4 separate regions of the Homo sapiens genome follow, and regions 2, 3 and 4 are each linked to region 1. Evidence: promoter capture Hi-C in 16 types of primary human blood cells and fetal thymus (Javierre and others, 2016). All regions are on one chromosome and are shown on one strand. The core of a region is centred on a gene start or on the middle of the fragment in contact, and the rest is flanking DNA. Distances in the headings are between cores, read along the strand shown.

What was found. The method cuts DNA at HindIII sites, captures the fragments that hold promoters and counts their contacts. A CHiCAGO score of 5 or more calls a contact.
Region 2: a contact is called between a fragment that was not itself captured here and the fragment with the promoter of BRS3 in region 1, in 1 of 17 cell types (naive CD4 T cells). The highest score is 5.3, in naive CD4 T cells.
Region 3: a contact is called between a fragment that was not itself captured here and the fragment with the promoter of BRS3 in region 1, in 1 of 17 cell types (naive CD8 T cells). The highest score is 5.0, in naive CD8 T cells.
Region 4: a fragment that was not itself captured here is called in contact with the fragment with the promoter of BRS3 in region 1 in 1 of 17 cell types (total CD8 T cells); the score reaches 5.6 in total CD8 T cells.

The regions. Positions count from the first base shown.
Region 1 is chrX:136,485,372-136,490,251 of GRCh38, forward strand. It overlaps BRS3 (bombesin receptor subtype 3), which reads left to right and starts at 2,576. Exons shown (of 3, transcript NM_001727.2): 1 at 2,576-3,177; 2 at 4,762-4,880. The coding sequence starts at 2,744. The HindIII fragment of the contact is 2,387 bases long and covers 850-3,236 here.
Region 2 is chrX:136,238,430-136,243,309 of GRCh38, forward strand. It overlaps MAP7D3 (MAP7 domain containing 3), which reads right to left. Exons shown (of 19, transcript NM_024597.4): 5 at 2,731-2,848; 6 at 1,953-2,057. Among named protein-coding and RNA genes, the nearest start is that of MAP7D3, 11 kb to the right of the region's middle. The HindIII fragment of the contact is 190 bases long and covers 2,470-2,659 here.
Region 3 is chrX:136,705,730-136,710,609 of GRCh38, forward strand. ARHGEF6 (Rac/Cdc42 guanine nucleotide exchange factor 6) reads right to left here. Exons shown (of 22, transcript NM_004840.3): 8 at 2,946-3,041; 9 at 1,179-1,301. Among named protein-coding and RNA genes, the nearest start is that of CD40LG, 60 kb to the left of the region's middle. The HindIII fragment of the contact is 1,141 bases long and covers 2,052-3,192 here.
Region 4 is chrX:136,687,733-136,692,612 of GRCh38, forward strand. It overlaps ARHGEF6 (Rac/Cdc42 guanine nucleotide exchange factor 6), which reads right to left. Exons shown (of 22, transcript NM_004840.3): 10 at 2,878-3,016; 11 at 200-259. Among named protein-coding and RNA genes, the nearest start is that of CD40LG, 42 kb to the left of the region's middle. The HindIII fragment of the contact is 5,738 bases long and covers 86-4,880 here.

The sequences.
Region 1 (4,880 bases), core at 1,326-3,825:
TAAAAACAAAAAAGGATTTCATCATTTTGTATAGGCCAAGTGCCTAGCTAAAAATGATTAACAAGACATGGTTATCTTTTGCTAGTGAATTATAAGGTTGTAAAAGAGATACAAAAGCAAATGCATTTAAATTATCTATCATGAATCACTGGTTAGCCTGGAAATCTCTTGTTCTTTGGTTAATAGAACACGCAGAAAACCTAAGCCTACAATGCCAAATGAGCAAATATGGCTCATTGTCAGGAACTGAGTGTTTTTCAGCTCTTGTCACTGATTTTTAACCTTTCAGAAGCCAAAGAGAATCTGTGTTTCATCTTAGTTCTGTTGAGAACTTGTGAGACCTTGGGTGAGATACTTTCCCTACTCTGGACCTCATTTCTGCCTCTGCAAAATGAGAGCATTTGATTTGATCATGTCTAGGGTCACTTCCATCTCTGATATTCTGGGATTCTGGAATTCTAGAGATCTAAGACCCCCACTGCTCCAGTACTACTCCAATACAACTACTCTCTCTTGACCGCTCTTGATCAGAAGGAAGAGGGAGAAGAAAAAGTATTCCAGTGGCTGCAGCCTGCTGAAAGCATGAGTGAGATCTGGGAATTCAGATAATCTCAGAAATCACATGCAAGCATTACAGAACTTACAAAACAGTGCCATGTGGAGATCGGCTGTGGTGTGAATTGGAAGACATGGTTTGCTCCTTGGTAAATGATACACAGGAGTCCCAGGGAGATTTTATCATTAGTTTGCTGAGAACAAGATGTGAACCCTTTAAGGAGCCCTTTTCTGTAGAGACAATCTTAAAGAACCAGCCCAGTGTATGAAATTACTAGAGTGTATATATCTGAAAGCTTAGGAACTTGGGTTTATGCAAACACTCCCCCGCACCCCCATTCCCATCAAAGGCAGTTATTTAGCTGAGTGATTCAAGCTGTGGCAATAACTTATAAAGGGTGGGGGATAGGTGTGGTTTGGGGGACTTAAACCACATCTGTCTTCCACCCTTCATGAAATTAAGGAGGTAATTGATTCAATTCATCCACTTCACTTTCTCTGAAGAACTGATTGCCCCTACTAAGTATAAAGAACAACCTTTGTTGTTCCCCCTGTTCATTAGCTAGCCAAATACTTTGCTCTTTTTCACTTCGCTCCCCAGACTACTTTCTAATATGGTTATATTTATGAACACCTCACTACATGGTTTCTAGCTGAGAGATTATGCATTGCATTTGATAATTTCAGAGAATATTTCTTAGCAGCTTCAATTAGTAACTACACTCCAACTGCTAGCTTCCTGCTCCCAAACAGTGCCCCCACCACAAACACATACATATAAAGCACATGGTTATGTTTTCTGTAAAAAGTAGCTTCTCTGGCTGGTACTGAGGTGGTTGCCTTAAATGTGTACTTCTTTCAGTTGATGTAAACATCATCTACATGCCCATCATCCCTGGAGTCACCTATTTCATTTCTTCATCTGCAAATGATGATTTTCATTCTTAAAAGTTCTTTTGTGTCAGGAGCTTGAGCAGTGATGTTCTGTATTGTTTTGTTTTGGAATAAGGCAGGTTAGGTTCCCTTTAACCATTTCTAGAGAGAAAAATCCTAAACAGCCCCTTAAAAGAAAACATGGCATTAAAACAGACAGTCAAACAGTAAAAAGTGGTTTTATTAGGACATTTAGAGACAAAGCAACTGGTGCTGTGCCTGGATTTTTCATCTCTTAAAAGGTTGTTTTGGCTGGGTGTGGTGGCTCATGCCTGTAATCCCAGCACTTTGGGAGGCTGAGGCAGGCGGATTGCCTGAGGTCAGGAGTTCAAGACCAGCCTGGCCAACATGGTGAAACCCTGTCTCTACTAAAAATACAAAAATTAGCCAGGCATGGTGGCGGGCGCCTGTAATCCCAGCTACTCGGGAGACTGAGGCAGGAGAATTGCTTGAACCCAGGAGGTGGAGGTTGCAGTGAGCCAAGATCGAGCCACTGCACTCCAGCCTGGGTGACAGAGTGAGACTCCATCTCAAAAAAAAAAAAAAAATTAAAAAGGTTGTTTTGATAGTGTACAGCACAGCCTGGATAACTGCAAAGTTGGGGTTTACCACGTGACAGAGCTAGGTATTAAGCCCAAGTGACCTGAATGATCACTCCTTGGAGGTGACATAAACCCTGTCGAAGTGTAAATGATCTGTTGCTTCACCATCTCTCTGATATTAAATTTTGAGGAGTGGGTTCAAGGTTGTGCTTCAGGGGACACCTACACTTATTTATCATGTAAAACAAAATGCACTAGACTACCATGTGATTGCAGGGGGATAAATGGTTTTTTTCTTAAAAAAAATTGACAAAACCTATATAGACCATCCTGGGTAGATATGAAAACAGGGTGATTCTAATAATAAATAAGACGATTTAATAGGGTCTAGTTGGTCCCAAGATTCCCCAACAGGGAAGAATAAGCAACTGCAGAGCATTTCCCCAGCCCCCTCCCTCTCCTTATGACAGGACACGCCAATAAAACTCCACCTCCTACTCTTCAGTGCCAGATGGGTAAGCATTTAGCCAAGCATGCTGGGAGACACACAGAACTGAAGCAAAGGAGTATCTGGATGTCTTGGATTTTCTTCCCATTCTGTTCTGTTCTGTTCTCCTAATACCATCTCGTTACTAGACGTAGGCATTGGACGTGACAATCAACTGCATTTGAACTGAGAAGAAGAAATATTAAAGACACAGTCTTCAGAAGAAATGGCTCAAAGGCAGCCTCACTCACCTAATCAGACTTTAATTTCAATCACAAATGACACAGAATCATCAAGCTCTGTGGTTTCTAACGATAACACAAATAAAGGATGGAGCGGGGACAACTCTCCAGGAATAGAAGCATTGTGTGCCATCTATATTACTTATGCTGTGATCATTTCAGTGGGCATCCTTGGAAATGCTATTCTCATCAAAGTCTTTTTCAAGACCAAATCCATGCAAACAGTTCCAAATATTTTCATCACCAGCCTGGCTTTTGGAGATCTTTTACTTCTGCTAACTTGTGTGCCAGTGGATGCAACTCACTACCTTGCAGAAGGATGGCTGTTCGGAAGAATTGGTTGTAAGGTGCTCTCTTTCATCCGGCTCACTTCTGTTGGTGTGTCAGTGTTCACATTAACAATTCTCAGCGCTGACAGGTGAGTTTCTTTTCTCCATTATATTTGCCAGGATGTGAAATTGGGCAAAAAGAAAGGAAAGCTTGTACTTAGCATTTACTGGCTACTATTCTGCTTTTCTCACACTCTGTAACGTGGATGTGAGATTGGAAAATCTGGTGGCATTTAAAATAAAAGTTAGTGTAAGAATGTTAAAATTTCTGTGTTAGCACGGAGGAGAAGTTGAAATTGCATGCTTTATGGATAATTTATTCTTATTGTTTGCTCGGAAGTATACTGAACGGGGTTTTTATTTTTCTCCAGTTTATTAAGTAAAGCAAATTGTTCCAGGTGTAAAGGAAAAAAATTCATGCTTTATACATTAGTGCAGCCTAGTGGTGCAATATAGTCAACATGAAAACCAGGATAGGTGTGAAATTGACCACATATGTATAACTGTATATTGGAAGAGTGGTAAAAAGACACAGGCATCTAATTTATTTGAAATTCATCAAATTAGCTAATGGCAGAAAAACGGTGAGGTTTTCAACTCCCTGGTAACTTAGTGTAATGTCATCACGTAATTCTACTTGTTTTCTCTGTAGGCATTCAGTGACATTATCATTTCCAGAGAAATAAATTAATCTTGGTTGACTTTTAGAGCTCTGTGGAGAGAGCGTGTGAGATCCTCTTGCAGTCAGGGTGTTCAGATTCTGTGTTAGGATATTTTCAGTCCAAGTACTCTGTTTTTCTGTGTTCCTATTGTAGAATAACTGTAAAAACATGAAAAAATTTGAGGCTCCAAATGTTAAAAATGATGCTTTACAAAGCCTGCAAGATTCCTGTAAGTAATCGATGTTTGGCAGTACCAGAAGGAATAACTTCTTCAGATTCTAGAATCTGAGAGGAGGAAAACCTTTCCCTGTGTCTTTTGATGATTTTTGCTTTGACTGGTCTTATATTCTATTTGAGGGCAGACTGGCTTAATGACTGTAGATTTTAAGGTGGATTTGTTTGAATGAGGAGGTATCTCTGTACCGGCACAGGACTTCTGATTGCAACTTTGCCTCGCCCTAAATCTGTCCACTGATCAGGTTGGGCAACGAATTAACACTTACAAACGGGGAAGAAATTAATCCTCTCCTCTTTACCACATAAACCCTTGGAATTCTCTTCTAGGAAGGTTGATAACTGTTCACTCATGAAGAAAGGAAAATTAATTCAGTTTAACATCAGTCACTTATACAAAAGAAGTCTTTTAGGTACCTTAAGTGTATTACACTTAAGGTAATACACAGGTGGTGAATTACTCTCAGTCACACATAAAGTCATGCTGATAAATGTTTATTTGTCCTAAATAGAGAGTCTATACATAAAATTATAAAATTGCAAATCTGGAATATCTCATAGGAGTGAATAATGGAAAAGGAGATTAGCATAAATAAAAATATTGGGATGTATTATGTGCATTTAAAACCATAGCCAATTCTAGTTGGTTAATGTTGACTTGGTTATACACATATGCACGGAGGGTAGAACTGGATGACCACTAAGGTCACTTCTCACCCTAAAATTTGGTAACTTTGACATTTATTTGGACCTTTGCCTCTGATTATGTGTTTCTAGATACAAGGCAGTTGTGAAGCCACTTGAGCGACAGCCCTCCAATGCCATCCTGAAGACTTGTGTAAAAGCTGGCTGCGTCTGGATCGTGTCTATGATATTTGCTCTACCTGAGGCTATAT
Region 2 (4,880 bases), core at 1,315-3,814, 250 kb before region 1:
AATTAAGATATATTAAAATGAAAGTACATAAACATGGCATTGCAATTAATGTTATCTAATTTTTCTAAAGGATTTAGTTGGTGAATAATAAATTAATTTTACCATATTATAAGCAAGGTGCCAGAGAAAATCTTCCCATATTAATCTATGAACAAACCCAGACTATATATAAAAGTGCTTTGGGAAAGCACATTGAGGGTGGAGGTGGTAAGTGGATGAACTTTTCTCAGACCAATACAAGAGAAAATGTGATATACTCAGACTGACAATAAAAGACCTCTCAAGCTCATCACTGAAATTTTAAGAGTCCTAAAAGTACAAATAACATAATGTAAGTTGGAACAAAAATCCTTTCGCCCTAGAAATCCTTTTCAACATATTAAAAACTATATTGTTTTAGGCAAAAATGGAAATCTTTTCCATAAGGTTAACTACTGCTACAATTAATTATACTTTAAATTGTATCCAAAATCTTTTGCTGTACTGGAATTGTATAGCAATCAGCATTGCTCAAAAATTGTCGAGATACCTAATAATGCAAAACAAACATTTTAAAATTCAAACTATAATTATGCCTTATTCAATTCACAAGGCACAAAAGCCATCTTTCCTCATCATTTTTACTGGCTAAGTTTAAGGGAATGATGTGGAATTTGTGCTCTTTTTCCTCTCAAGAACATTCCTTTTTTTCCTCTAGAAAGAAAAGGGATCTTTTTTTTGGATTGATGGGTATAGTTGCCTAATCCATTTCAATTATCAGTGAGAGGCACCATGTGCTACAAGCCAGACATGGTTATTGACACACACTTGGGTATAGATTTTTCTTTTAATAAGGAACACTAATTAAAAGGACAAACACCAGAAACAAAAAGACATTTGAATTATTCATAGTAGATAACTTCACTGTATTTGAAACAACTCTGTATTGCCATTAGGAAGAGTTGTAAAGTGGAACTTGGCAATACGTCTATCATTAAACATCATTATCACATTATTTGCTTTTGGGGGAAAACATTGACTTATAAATGAAAGGTACAACTTAAATATCATGATCCATCTATCAAATGACCAAAATATAAACCACAGAAAAGGATGTTAGAGTAGAAATCACTGAATTTCTTGGAGTCTTAACTATAAAACAAGGAAGGCAATTATACTTGTCTGTCAATTTTCTAAGATAATTGTGAATAACAAATATGATATATGTAATGCAGATCAACCTGTCCACTGCTATATATATGCTATTATTTTTCTAAAATGAGGTAATATTCACAATACTTAATGGAAATTGAATAACTGTCTAACCAGTCTGTAGAAAACACAATTTCATTTATATGTTGGTAGAATATGAACTAATCTTCAAATAAATAATTATGCCACTTAATGGCAGTGTCTTTTGACCAAAATATGTTTCAGTTTCAGCTACTGAGGTCCAATAATCCCATCTGATATGATTAACACAAACATCATGAAACAAGTATATTGATGAAAATACAAGGCCAGGCATGGTGGCTCACGCCTGTAATCCCAGCACTTTGGGAGGCCGAGGAAGGTGGATCACTTGAGGTCAGGAGTTCAAGACCAGCCTGGCCAACATGGTGAAACCCCGTCTCTACCAAAAGTACAAAAGTTAGCTGGGCGTGGTGATGCAGGTCTGTAATTCCAGCTACTTGGGAGGCTGAGGCACGAGAATCGCTTGAGCCCACGAGGCAGAGGTTGCAGTGAGCCAAGATCATGCCACTGCACTCCAGTATGGGCAACAGAGTGAGACTCTGTCTCAAAAAAAAAAAAAAAAAAGTATGACTATCTCTCTCCCTCTGCTGTAAAATAACATGGGACTCTTCTGAAATAAACATAAATGTTCCACAATCTAAATAGGTGGTACTGTAAAAATATAAAGAACTGATTTCATTTAATAGAAATTCAGTAGAATACATGAAATAACTACTTACTTTTGGCAACGGAATTTTGAAGGCCTGCAGATGACAAAGGCATTTGTCTGATTAAAGCAGAAGTACCCTGTTCAAGTTTTTCAGTAGATGCAGATCGTTTATTGGCTGAGAAAAGACATAATACTTACTGTAATCATATTTCAAGGAGGAAAGAATCATTAACTGAAAAAAAAATGAGTTTTCATGATATAGTTCTATGGAGCACAGACTTACATTACTCAAGTTCACAATATCACTGCCCGTCAATCCTTTTTTTTTAGTAGAGACGGGGCTTCACCATGTTGGCCAGGCGGGTCTTGAACTCTTGACCTCAAGTGATCTGCTCGCCTTGGCCTCTCAAAGTGCTGGGACTACAGGTGTGAGCCACGGCAACTGGCCAATCCTTCTAAACTACATAAATTTTACTTTTGTTTTCTGAAATTGTGTAGAATTATGTGCATATAAGAAAATTTACACTAAATCAATAGTAGACAAGGCAGACTTATTTTTAAAAATATGCATTTGATAAGCTGTGTAAAGCTTAGTCATTATTCAGCATTTTTCTGCTGATTATAAGTTTAAATAAGATTTTAGGTATATTGAGCTAAATAAAATCTACTATAACATTTCACCTGTTTCTTTTGCAATGGCATATGACAGAAATTTAAATTTACTATATACAGTATTTTTGTTTAGGATACAAACACTAAAATCTTGCTGTAAATGCAAGCTTCTACTCATAGCCAATATTTAAACAAGAACATAAACAAACTTAAAATTTAATGGGTGTATTAATTACCAGTTTTGCTCTCAGAATTCGCCATTGCAGAGCCTCCCCATGACCATCTTTTTTGCTGATAATCATCAGCAAGTCTCCTCCGTTCCAAAGTACGATAAAGAATGGCTGTAAATTTTTCCTATTTAAAATAAAAGCCAACATATTTTTACATATTCATCAAATTAGTATAATTTTGATCTGTGGTTTATAAAATAAACCATAACCAAATTTCTGTCTCAGGTAAAAGTTTAAAATAATTGGAGATATGTCTCAGCTATCAATCAATACCAGTGCTTCTCCTAAATAACTCATTTTTTTTTATCTTATGGACCTTGCATTAAGAAAATGACCATGCTTTCCTCTTTGTTTGTATCATTAGGAAATTTAGAGCCAAATGTGTAGCCTCTTTCTAGCAACTGTACAAAGACTGATTGGTATACTTTTGTGCATGCTAATCATACCTTATGTTTTATTTGCCTATGTTAGTTTTCCCCTCTGCTTGATTCCCCCAACCATTTATTTTTATCATCTGGTGTGGTATGTATTTTTAAGTCACCTTAAATTCTTTGTAGAATGAGGCAGGGGAAAAATCAGCACACATATAAGTTAAATTTATACCAGAATCATCTAGTATACTCACATCTGTAACAGCTAAAATTCTGGTGTTAACTAATAAAAATAAAGTTTCAAAAAAGATAATCAATATATTTGTCTTGACCTCAACTTTAGCTGGTCAAGACAACAGCTATACAAAGTAAATACCATGCTGCAGCAAAACAACTCCACTTCCAGAAATGAGCTCTTCTCTCAAATATTTCTCATCCTTGTACTGTGCCATACCATGAACTCAGGTAAGCAAATCAACTTTTAGGACCAGAGATCTTCTATTTTTCCCTAACAACAACCGTTTCATAGCAAACACCATCCTTACAAAGCCTCTACTGTTTCTACCAATGGCAAAGATAAACGTACTAGGAAAATGGAGATGAGCCATATCTTCTGAGAAGAAAAGCAACCGCAATTCTTAAAATAAAGTTGATACAATGGGCAACATTTGAAAATTATATTTTCTAACAGAAAGGCAGTTGTTCTGAATTACTTAGAAACCCTGAAACTATAATAGACTAAAAACAAAGATTAACTTTGTATTATTAAACTATTTCTGATTCTATTCCACTGTTTCCAAATGCATTACCTACTGTGCTCTCTTCCAGGTCCCTTCTCACATCGTGGCCACCCAGGGCTCACATAGAAGTTCCTATCCCATTTCATATACACCTCCTGTCCACACTCATCCCTCCTCAGCACCACTGAGTCTGGGTTTTTTTTTTCTGCTCTCCAGAATTCCTCTCTTTTGCTATATGTAGCCTACTTACAGTGTCCCATGTCCCCTGTTCTGTCTGGGACTCTCCCGCACTAGCTATCTGGGGTTTTCTTTTGCCCCTTCTCCTGCCATGTCTGTGGCTCCCTTTCTGTCTGCAGTGTCATTTTGCTGCATTCTCTTCTATTCTCTGTGTTCTCTCTGGCAGCTTCCTCTTTCTCTAAGATAGTCTTTATTTTTTGGTCTCAGTCCCTGTGACTTGTCTCTCTCCTCCATGGACTCCCACTCACTCTACACACAGTTTGTATTTCACTTTCTTTGGTTCTTTACTTAGTTCTTGGTTCTTTCTTCGTTTATCATTACTTAGTTCATTCTCTCTCTTTCTCTGGCCTTCATCTCTTTACCACAGAAAAGTAAAATAAGAGAGATGTTTCAAGAAGATGATGGAAAGTGACAGAAATTCTGAATGAGAGTCTACCAAATACTAGAGCATGAAACAGAGCATAAACAACCACAGAAAAGGGTTCAGAAAGGGAGAGATATAGTACACCATGGATGGGGAAAAAGTGGCACAAGAAGTGTCCTAGAATCAGGAAGCTCTCCAGATAGGGTGCAGGGCTGGAGAGGAAGCACGTACAAGAGCAAAGGTATGGATGAGGAGGGAGGAAACTGAGCACCGCAGAGAAAGACAAGAGGAAGCTTCATGGGAGAAATGGAACCAAAGAGAAAAGGAGAGAAAAAGAAATGCAAATATTAGAGTGACAGAAAATAAGAGAGGGAAATAAAAATACAACACACTGAGAGAATGGCAGGCAGAGGATATAAAGATGGGGAAAAACAGACAGAAGCT
Region 3 (4,880 bases), core at 1,372-3,871, 220 kb after region 1:
TATTCCATAAGAGTTCAAAATTTATCAGAGGAATAAAATTGACCTTCAAGCAGGACTTACTGCGTTCAACCTTTAAAATGTCCTTACATAACATCTTTGTAAAGCCAATAAATATTGCACCTTAATAAACCAGGACAAGAACCAAAATTTCTGTCATTTCTGGAGGCTCGTGTCAACTAATGTTCTAGCCTAGCTCTGGGAGCTCAAATCTAGGTCAGATTAAGAGAATATTATTTTCAGTCTTGAACAGCTTCCAGAATCCATGTCCATTCTGCATCTTAGTCTCCAAGTTAAGTCAAGAGTCTCTATATGTTGGACTTGCTTTTGTCCCACCTGGATTTCCAGCATATGACTTCAAAGGTAAAATTCTGTCACTAAGCCTGTCCTACAGTTTTCTGGCCCAGATGAATGTGTCAGTGAATGTGTCAGGGGTGGGTAGTCAGAAGCTAAGGATGGCAGGAGAGGTGTAACACTTATCTAGGTCCCTTGCAAGGACTCGTATTCTTAAAGGAGACACTATTCTATTGTTCATCATGAATCGGAAGCAACTTATATTCATGTATAATTATTATCAGAGCCCTTTGCTTAAAGTATCTGTCACACAGCTCACACCTGCTTTGTAGCTACATCATTGCCTAAAACTTTCTCTACGCAGACTAGGGAAGGCAAAAAGAGATGAAGCTACACAGTTTAGCTATGTGTCAGCAACTCAGAAAAAACATTCATTGGGGTAGGGGAAAGCTAAATGATAGGCTCGAAATAGAATTTTGCTTCAGGAAAGCCCTCCCTGACCCTTTCTTCACATCCCACTAAGTTGATATCATGTTAATGTTATCTCACAGAACCCTTTTAATTTACTGTTTCATAATATGACACGTTTACAACATTTAATTTAATATCTGCATTTCCCTCAAGATTCTGTGCTCAATGAGGGGAAGGACCTCCTCCTCCTTGTTCATTCCTGTATCCCCATCAGCTGGTACAGGGCCTTGCACATAGTAGGTGCTCAAGAATTTATTCATTGGATTAATGGACAATCAATCCATGTAACAATGAATCAATTCCTGGCATCATGAACAGGGATAATCAAGAGTCCAACTGAAGACCTTGGATTTCCAAATGACGTGGTCCTAAGAAAGGATCTCATTGCAAAAGTTGGGGAAATGTTAACTATTTACCTGTGCTGAGTGAGCACATTTACAGCTGAAGGATGGTTTGCACAGTAAGCCAGATACATAGATTTAAAATGAGGCATGAGACTCAGTAGACAACCTCCTACTTTGTGCTGGTTTTCTGGAAACCTGTAAACAAAATGGACAAAACACAGAATGTAAAATAGGAAACAGGAGGCAAAGGAAGATTATTCCAATTAAACCTGGCAGCATGAAAGCCTTCTGAATATTTTGCCAAGGTTAAAAGAGAAACTATATTATAACCATTTTACCCATGAAACTCAAATTCTTGCCCACTGCTTTAAACTCTAGCCACCAAACACAGTTGTAATACATAGGGTCAGATACTTACTTGGAATTAGTAGGTATGGTTGCTTGTTTGTTTTTAAGATGATTATTTTCAAATTTAGCTGGGTACACTAAAAATATTCTTGGTTAATTTATCTAAAGTTTGAGTACAGACAAAACTAATCAAATCCAAAAATGACATACCACAAAAGAATATTATGTAATCTTGGAGGCCTGGTGTTTGCTACGCAGGGTGGCCTCAAAAGTTTTTAAATTAATGTTTTAAATTATAAGCCACCTGTCTTCATTTGTAGAAAAATCAGAAAAGTGTAATAAGAAAAATGAATTTCTCAGACTCCCACCATTTGGAGATACTGACTCTAAAAATGTTGACATGTTTCTTGGGCTTTTTTCTACATGTTTCTCTATAAAATGGAAAACATAAGGATTATGAATCTAGTTTGTAATCTGCCCTTCTCGCTTAGTGAACATCTTTGCATATCAATAATCTAGATCCCTCTTGGCCCCTCAAGTCCCTTTAGTGTGGGCCCTCTCCATCGTTCTTCCTGGACAACCACCTGTGTCCTATTAAGCTTAAATAACAGGTAATCACCTCAATTTCCCTAGAGAGATGAAAGCTGCCAACTTCTTTAAGATACGCTGCTTGAAAAATTAGTCTTTCTATAGAGACATATTGCCTGATGATCATTATAGTTCACTGTAGTATGAAGTTAAACATCTGGACAATCTAGCTAGCCATCAAAAATGTGTTGGTTCACATAAAGATATACTTTTCCTTCCCCCACTTTCTGTGTGTTTCAACTCTTAATATAATAGACATAGTATCAGGAGCAATTCAAAGACACCAAATCTGTGAAACTGAATGAATCATTTGAATGACTTTTCCAAGTAATTTGCAATGTACAAAAGAAAATATGTAATCAGTGCCAGAGGTGTCATTCATGGTCAATTAAGACCTCATGTGTCTCCAGGGAGGGGACCATCACACACTGGGGCCTGTCGGGGAGTGGGGTGAAAGGGGAGGGAGAGCATTAGGACAAATACCTAATGCATGCAGGGCTTAAATCCTGGATGACGGGTTGATAGGTGCAGCAAACCACCATGGCGCATGTATACCTATGTAACAAACCTGCACGTTCAGCACATTTATCCCAGAACTTTAAGGAACATTAAAAAAAAAAAAAAGACCTTATGTGTCTCTTATACTGACCAGAAACAGCAAACTGATGTATTTTTTAAATAAAGTCAAAAGTAATTTACAAGATATAGACTTCTAATATACAACTAGTGGTTTGACACTGTGAACACTGCCACCTAGTACACTGTCTATGTATTGCTACTTTGTTCAGAGCTGTAACAAATACTTAACTATGAAGTGTCCTTATCAAAGGCAACAGGTAAAAGGAAAACAAAACACAAACAGCAATGTTGCTGGCTATCCTATCAGAAATATGCCACACTTACTTTGAACATTCTTCCAAGGCTTGGCAGAGTGTCTGTTGAAATGTGCATACTTCCTCGAAGTTTCCCAGTAAAGATGTAACCTCCACAGTACTCAGACTGAAAAAAAAATACAGTACATGTAGTTATCTATTGTAGTCTAGTTGGCTAATAGTTTGCTAATATATGGTAAATAAAAGGGAGGTAATACCTATATTTTAACTTTTGCTTTTTAATTTATAACAACTCTATTGTCTTAGGCAGCTTCTTAAGCTTCTCCCCTTGATTTTCTTTTATATAATAAGAATAATGATCCTAAAGAAATGGAGTGGTCGTAAGGGACAATTAGGTATTTTATAAAGCAACAGGTAAATTAAAACAAGTGCTTAATACTGAAGTATACAAATAGATAAAAATACATCATAGCTGTGAATAAGTGTAAAAAACTCTTGAGTACCTTCCTCTGGATGAACTGGAACAGTAATTGAAAGATATTATATATGCTCATATAATACACAAGAAAAAATAGCAAAATCAACTTTCTCCTAAACTAAAATGCTCATACATCAATTAAAGGAAATCTTTATGAGATGAAGTAGGAGGAAAAAAATAGTATTGATTTGTTTGTTTCTGGAGTAGAGTGAAGTCAAATAAAGGCAAACTGAACCACTTTATCCAGGGCCTCTGTATGAAGAATGTTCTTATCCATTCCTCCCCTACCAAACAGTAAGTGATAATAATAACAAGAGTCAACACTCATAGAGCACTGAACACTTACACAAGCATTTTACAATTAAAACCTTATTTTAACCTTACAATAACTCTTTAAGGTAGGTATTATGCCAGTGCTGTTTCCATTTTACAGGTGGGGAAACCCAGGCATAGAGAGGTTAAGCAAATCATCCAAAGGTACAAAGCCAGGAAATGCCAAAGACAGAAATTGAACCAAAACATTCTAGCTGCAGAGTCCATGCTCTTAACCACTTTTTGGGAGAAAACGTTTCTGAAGATTTGTTTAAAAAGCCAAGGTTGGGCTGGGCGTGGTGGTTCATGCCTGTAATCCCAGCACTCTGGGAGGCCGAGGCGGGTGGATCACTTGAACCCAGGAGTTCAAAACCAGCCTGGCCGACATGGTGAAACCCCGTCTGTACTAAAAATACAAAGAATTAGCCGAGTGTGGTGGCAGTCGCCTGTAATTCCAGCTACTCGGGAGGCTGAGGCAGAAGAATTGCTTGAACCTGGGAGGCGGAAGTTGCAGTGAGCTGAGATCGTGCCACTGCACTCCAGGCTGGGTGATGGAGTAAGACTCTGTCAAAAAATAAAAAAGCCCATGTCTGCCACATGTTCTTCTCCTTAAGTGTATAGTAACACTAGGCCGGGTGTGGTGGCTCACGCCTGAAATCCCAGCACTTTGGGAGGCTAAGGCAGGCAGATCACTTGAGGTCAGCAGTTCAAGACCAGCCTGGCCAACATGGCGAAATCCCATCGCTACTAAAAATACAAAATTGCCATGCGTGGTGGCACATGCCTGTAGTCTCAGCTACTCAGGAGGCTGAGGCAGGAGAATCGCTTGAACCTGGGAAGCAGAGGTTGCAGTGAGCCGAGATCTCACCACTGCACTCCAGCCTGGGGGTGGAGTGTATTGTATATGCTATATAATATATATATTATATATTATACATATATATATATATATATATATAGAATACCAGGGGAGTATTCCCAAGAGAATATTTTTTTGCTGACTAAGAAAGAAAGGGAAGAAGACCAAAACAAACATTACCAGTAACTCTGAGAGAATAAAAAACTGCCAGTTCCTCTGCTGTAATGCCATCCTGAATCACAAGCTGGAAAACCCCTATTCTAAAGTGAAACCTTTAGCCAACCAACTTCCCTGGTTGTTGCTCTCTCAGAGCAGTGAGAACTTAAGTTGGGGCCTTACCTGAACTTGACTGGGGG
Region 4 (4,880 bases), core at 1,705-4,204, 200 kb after region 1:
CCTCAGCCTGGCAACCTTTCTTTAGGTAAGCATGATTTTTGGAGGACAAAATTAAGTGAAACAATCACTGCTATACTGTCATGAAAGCTTATTTCCATTCTAAAGACCTTTGTATAGGGAAAGAAATGTTACACACAAATCGCTCTTTCAGGAATAAAGTATACAAAATGGAGAATTGTGATTTTAAAGCATCACCTACCATGAGAGTTTTGAATGCTACGATTGCTTTCAGAATATCCTGATGATCTGGATGAGTATCCTATCAAAGGAATACATTTGAAAACAATGTTAGAGGAGAGAGGATCAGCAGTTGCCAAGGGTTAGGGGTAGAAAGAGAGTATGGCCACAAAGATAGCAAGAGAATTTTGGGGGATGATGGAACTGTTCTGTATTTTAATTGTGGTCATGGTAACATGAATCTATACCTGTGTGAAAACTCATAGAACTGTGCACCAGAAGAAAAACGTTAATTTTACTCTATACTAAAGATTAAAAAATAGAGCAGCATGGGAGCATTTGGAATCTCAGTGACTCTAATTATTAGGTGATTAAGAAATTAAGAGAGTTGGTAATGCATCATATATTTAGTAACAATGTAGTAAAAGGCAAGAGTTCCCACTTCCCTTTTTGCTATTATACTTTGGATAATGATTATTTAATAATAAATATAATAATTAAATAATTATTCGGGGTACATCATTAGGTCATGTTGTTGGTAGATGACAGGAGGTAGGGAATGGTGGAAACAAGAGTCGTGGTTAGAGAAAAATCAATCTATCAGCCGGGCATGGTGGTGCATGCCTATAGTCCCAGCTACTTGGGAGGCTGAGCTGAGAGGATCAGCTGAGCCCAGAGGTCGAGACTGTGATGAGCTGTGATTGTGCCACTATACTCCAGCCTGGGTGATAGAGTGAGACCCTGTCTCAAAACAAACAAACAAACAAACAACAACAACAAAAACTCAAGAGAAAAATCAATCTAATTCCATTTCCTAAAATGCCTCCATTTTCTTTCAGCAGTGTGAACATGGCAGATGGGAAAAGATTCCAAGTTTCATACCATATTTTCCTTCTTAAGCAAGGCTCTTACACATGGCCTGCAATCCTGTGGTACTTGCAATTCCGAAAGTGGACAGATTCAAAAACGGCTTAGAGGAATCCATAATTCCATAACTGTTTATGAAGGGAAGACACAGATTCTTATGGGTAGATGTGCACCTAACATTGGGGCATAGGGGATATGTCCTTTGGAACTCAGCTGGAGTAAGGGAAGACTAAATCTCCTGCCCCACTAGTCTCGGGTGATAAAATACAGAGCTGAACAGATTAGGGGCCTGACCCAAGCCAAGAATGACATTGCTCATAAAAAGTAAGGTTGTATTCCTTTACAGTAAAATTTATCCTTATCCAAATCAACTGACAAACAAGAAGTTCAGGCTTTATTCTACTGTTAGCAGCCATGCCAAATGCTCTGAAATCTGCACAAAGTGTCTCACCCAGTGGTGAACTAGTTCTAAAGGCTTGTATTTTCTGATGATGGGAAATGAGAGGCAGCCAAAGACATGTGACCCACAGCAAATGGAAGCAGGAGGAGAACAGGCTCCACTACAAGAAAGACTGAGATATAGGATCCAGGCAGCAGGAGCATCTGGGATTTGTTTCTCCCCAAAATAAGTGCATATTTGCATTTCAACACTGAAAAGTAATAGAAACTGAGGCCACTCGTTTCTGGATTTTTGTGATAAGCAAGGAGGGGCAAACCTCAAACGGTTCAGCAAACTGGTTTAGCTTATGGAAAGGCATCCAGAGGTCAACACCTTCCTGAGCCCTAACTGAAATTTCACACTGACAGGCTTTGCTCACCAGCTCCCCACTGCCTCCGGCTTTCAGGCAGGTCAAATACCCTGAGAATGTGGTTTCGCTCAGAGAACATTCTTTCAATCCTTACAAATGCTGACAAGCCCGGCAGAGTGCGGGTGCACTCTTTTTCTTTAAAGATAATCAAACCCCTTGAAACCTCAAAACCTTTCCCCAGACACAGGAAGAGCAACTAGGGTAAATGCAGCCTCCTCCAGCAGGCCCTCCTCTCCCACCCACACTTAAATCCCCCATGAACAATCACAAAAGAATGGCTCAAGGAGCTAGCTCTGCTGATTGGTTTTTCATAACATGAGGCCTTTGGTTCTTGGTGAAAAAATATTCAATTATCAGGCCTCATTGCAAAATCTTAGAATTTAGAAAAGATTATAGCTATGCTACAACAGTTGCAAGTAAACTGTAGGCTTATAAATAAAAATGTGGGGGGACTCTGATGTACATGCATGATGTGTAGAGAGATACCACTAATATTGTATCCATCCATTAGTCTTTAAGGAATACCAGAATCTTCCACTGTTATCCAGAGTCAGGAAGTTGAATGATGGCAGAATTCTAGAGATAAATATTCCTGTCTATAGTGAACTTGTTCTTTGTACATTCTGATGTTGTTTTGCTCTATCTCCCACAATAAAGTTGGTTAATATACCAGAAACAAAGAAGATTTCTTAGTTGGATTTTGACCAAACTACTGAGAGGGCAAAAGAAAACTCAAGTTAGCAAGTAAGCATAGACTTAAGGGAAGCCACAGGACCAAGGCTTGGAAGAGAAGAGCGAAAAGGGAGAATGATCATTAATATCTAGTAGCAAAGAGTAAGGATCTTATTTTGCTGCATAAAAAGGAAAACTAGAAGCCTGAGAAGAGGGAAGAACAGATAAAGTAAATTTTGAATCCAAGACCTTGATTCCTCTGCAAGGCCATTTTGGAGGCAAATTGGCTGCGTCCTCCAGAGCACAGGACCATACTTGGCACACGAGCTTGAAAAAGTTCACCTTCCCTTACCTCCATATGCCGTTCTAACTCTTGCAAGAGAGTAACATATTTCTCCAGTCGCATGAATGGTTTGCTGAGGTTTGTTGTTAAAATGAGGATACCTGGGCTCGATGCACCTTGATTTTCCATGAATTGTTCCAACTCATCACTAGCAAAAGAACAAATATAATTTTGTTACTGTTGAATATCTCATGTAAAGAATTATCAACCTAAAATTATTTTACTGTATTTCACACAATATAAAGCCAAATAAAAATGTGTTTTACTAGTCCAAATGCTGTTCAATTTGTTTTGGCTCAACTAAATCAGGTTTTATTAAGCTCCTTCTGTAAAATCAGCACCAGGGCTCCTTTGGTGAGCCAGACACTCATGATCCCTGGTGTCACACATTCAACAATTACTGATTGAGCATCTACTAAGTGACAGGCTCTGTTCTCTGATGGGGCTACAGCAGTGAACAAAAAAAAAAAATCCCCACCCTTAAGGAGCCTACATTCATGGGCGTGAGATATACAGTGTATCAGATGACCCAGAACTTAAAGTATAATTTAAAAAATAGATTTTCTTAATCACTTCAAACGTCCTAGTTATTGGCTGGTCAGGTGCCTAAAGATAACAATCCACAAGGTTGTATCACCCACTTGTAATGTTCTAGAATCACTTCCTGCATTTAGATACCAGCATGTTTGTATGACTAACCACAAAGTCACTTAGCCCAATATCAAAAACCAGTGAAGCAGGTTAACCAAACACTTCCATAAGGCAGTAACTTGGTGAAAAAATATATTAATATTTTATGAACTGTGTGCTGTAAATGTCTAATTCTAAGCCAGTGCTTTTTCTGCTGTTTAGCACCGTTCCAAACTGTTTACTTTCCACCAACAGGGATATTGAGTCCTGGGGCTGCAAGATCATTTTGATACATATTTAAGCAAAATATACTTAGAGGAGGAAACCTACTGCCTAAGTGACAGCTTATGTTGAAACTTCTGCTTTATTACATGGCCCTTTTACCTCTTTGGTTGGCCATGCATATCCAGTCAGTCACAAATCTTCTTGGATCTGTTCATTCCTTTCCATTCCTGCTGCCACTGCCTTAGTTCAGGATTTCAGCTCATTCCATCTGGCTCACTTCAATAGACCAACTGTTTTCCTGGCTTCCAGGCTTTTTCCAGGTCCTACAGACTACCATTTTAGCCTCACTGCTTTCCTACCCAAGAGGCTGAGTGCCTACAAGATCAAGTCTTAACTTTTTAAACTCCTACTGGCTCCACCATCTTTCTCACTACTCCCCAGCAGGAAACCCCTAGTGCAAAGTGACCTACTTATTCTCCCTAGAACACGTCTTATGCCATGGTTCCCAACTGTGGTGTGCTGCTATAAGGTGTGAAGTGTGTTCAAAAAACTTGCTATCAGTAATAAAGTACTAGGAGGCTGGAAACAGAGCGGATTGCAGGTTATCCCTGCAATCCCCACCCACACTCTCCCTTCGTGGGCTTTTCTGAGCAGGAGAGAAAAGATGGAGTTTCAGCTAATGCAACAGCAGCCTTGAGTCATGCAGTATGGCACATATGTTGGGCTGGGAATGGCTGCCTTAATGGAGTCTAGATCACATATGAGAGGTCATATCTAGCAATTGCTGCTAATCCTTTTATAAAACTTTTACAAAATTATAGAGACAGGGTTTTGCCATTTTGCCCAGGCTGGTGTCGAACTCCTGGGCTCAAGCAATCCTCCCACCTCGGCCTCCCAAAGTGCTGGGACTACAGGCATGAACCACCGCACCCAGCCTGCTGCTAATCCTTTTATCAGTTTTCGTAGTCTTGTTCCAGAAGTAGCCAAAGGGAGGGAAATGTCCTAGACTTGGAGTCATAAAAGAGAGTTGGCAACCCTGGATGAGTTGCCTGAGCCTCAACTGACTCATGCTTATAAGAGAGATAAAACCTACTTCCTAATAAAATTGCAAAGATTAAATATTGGGGGTTTTAATGCTACTATTTCATGCTAAGAAT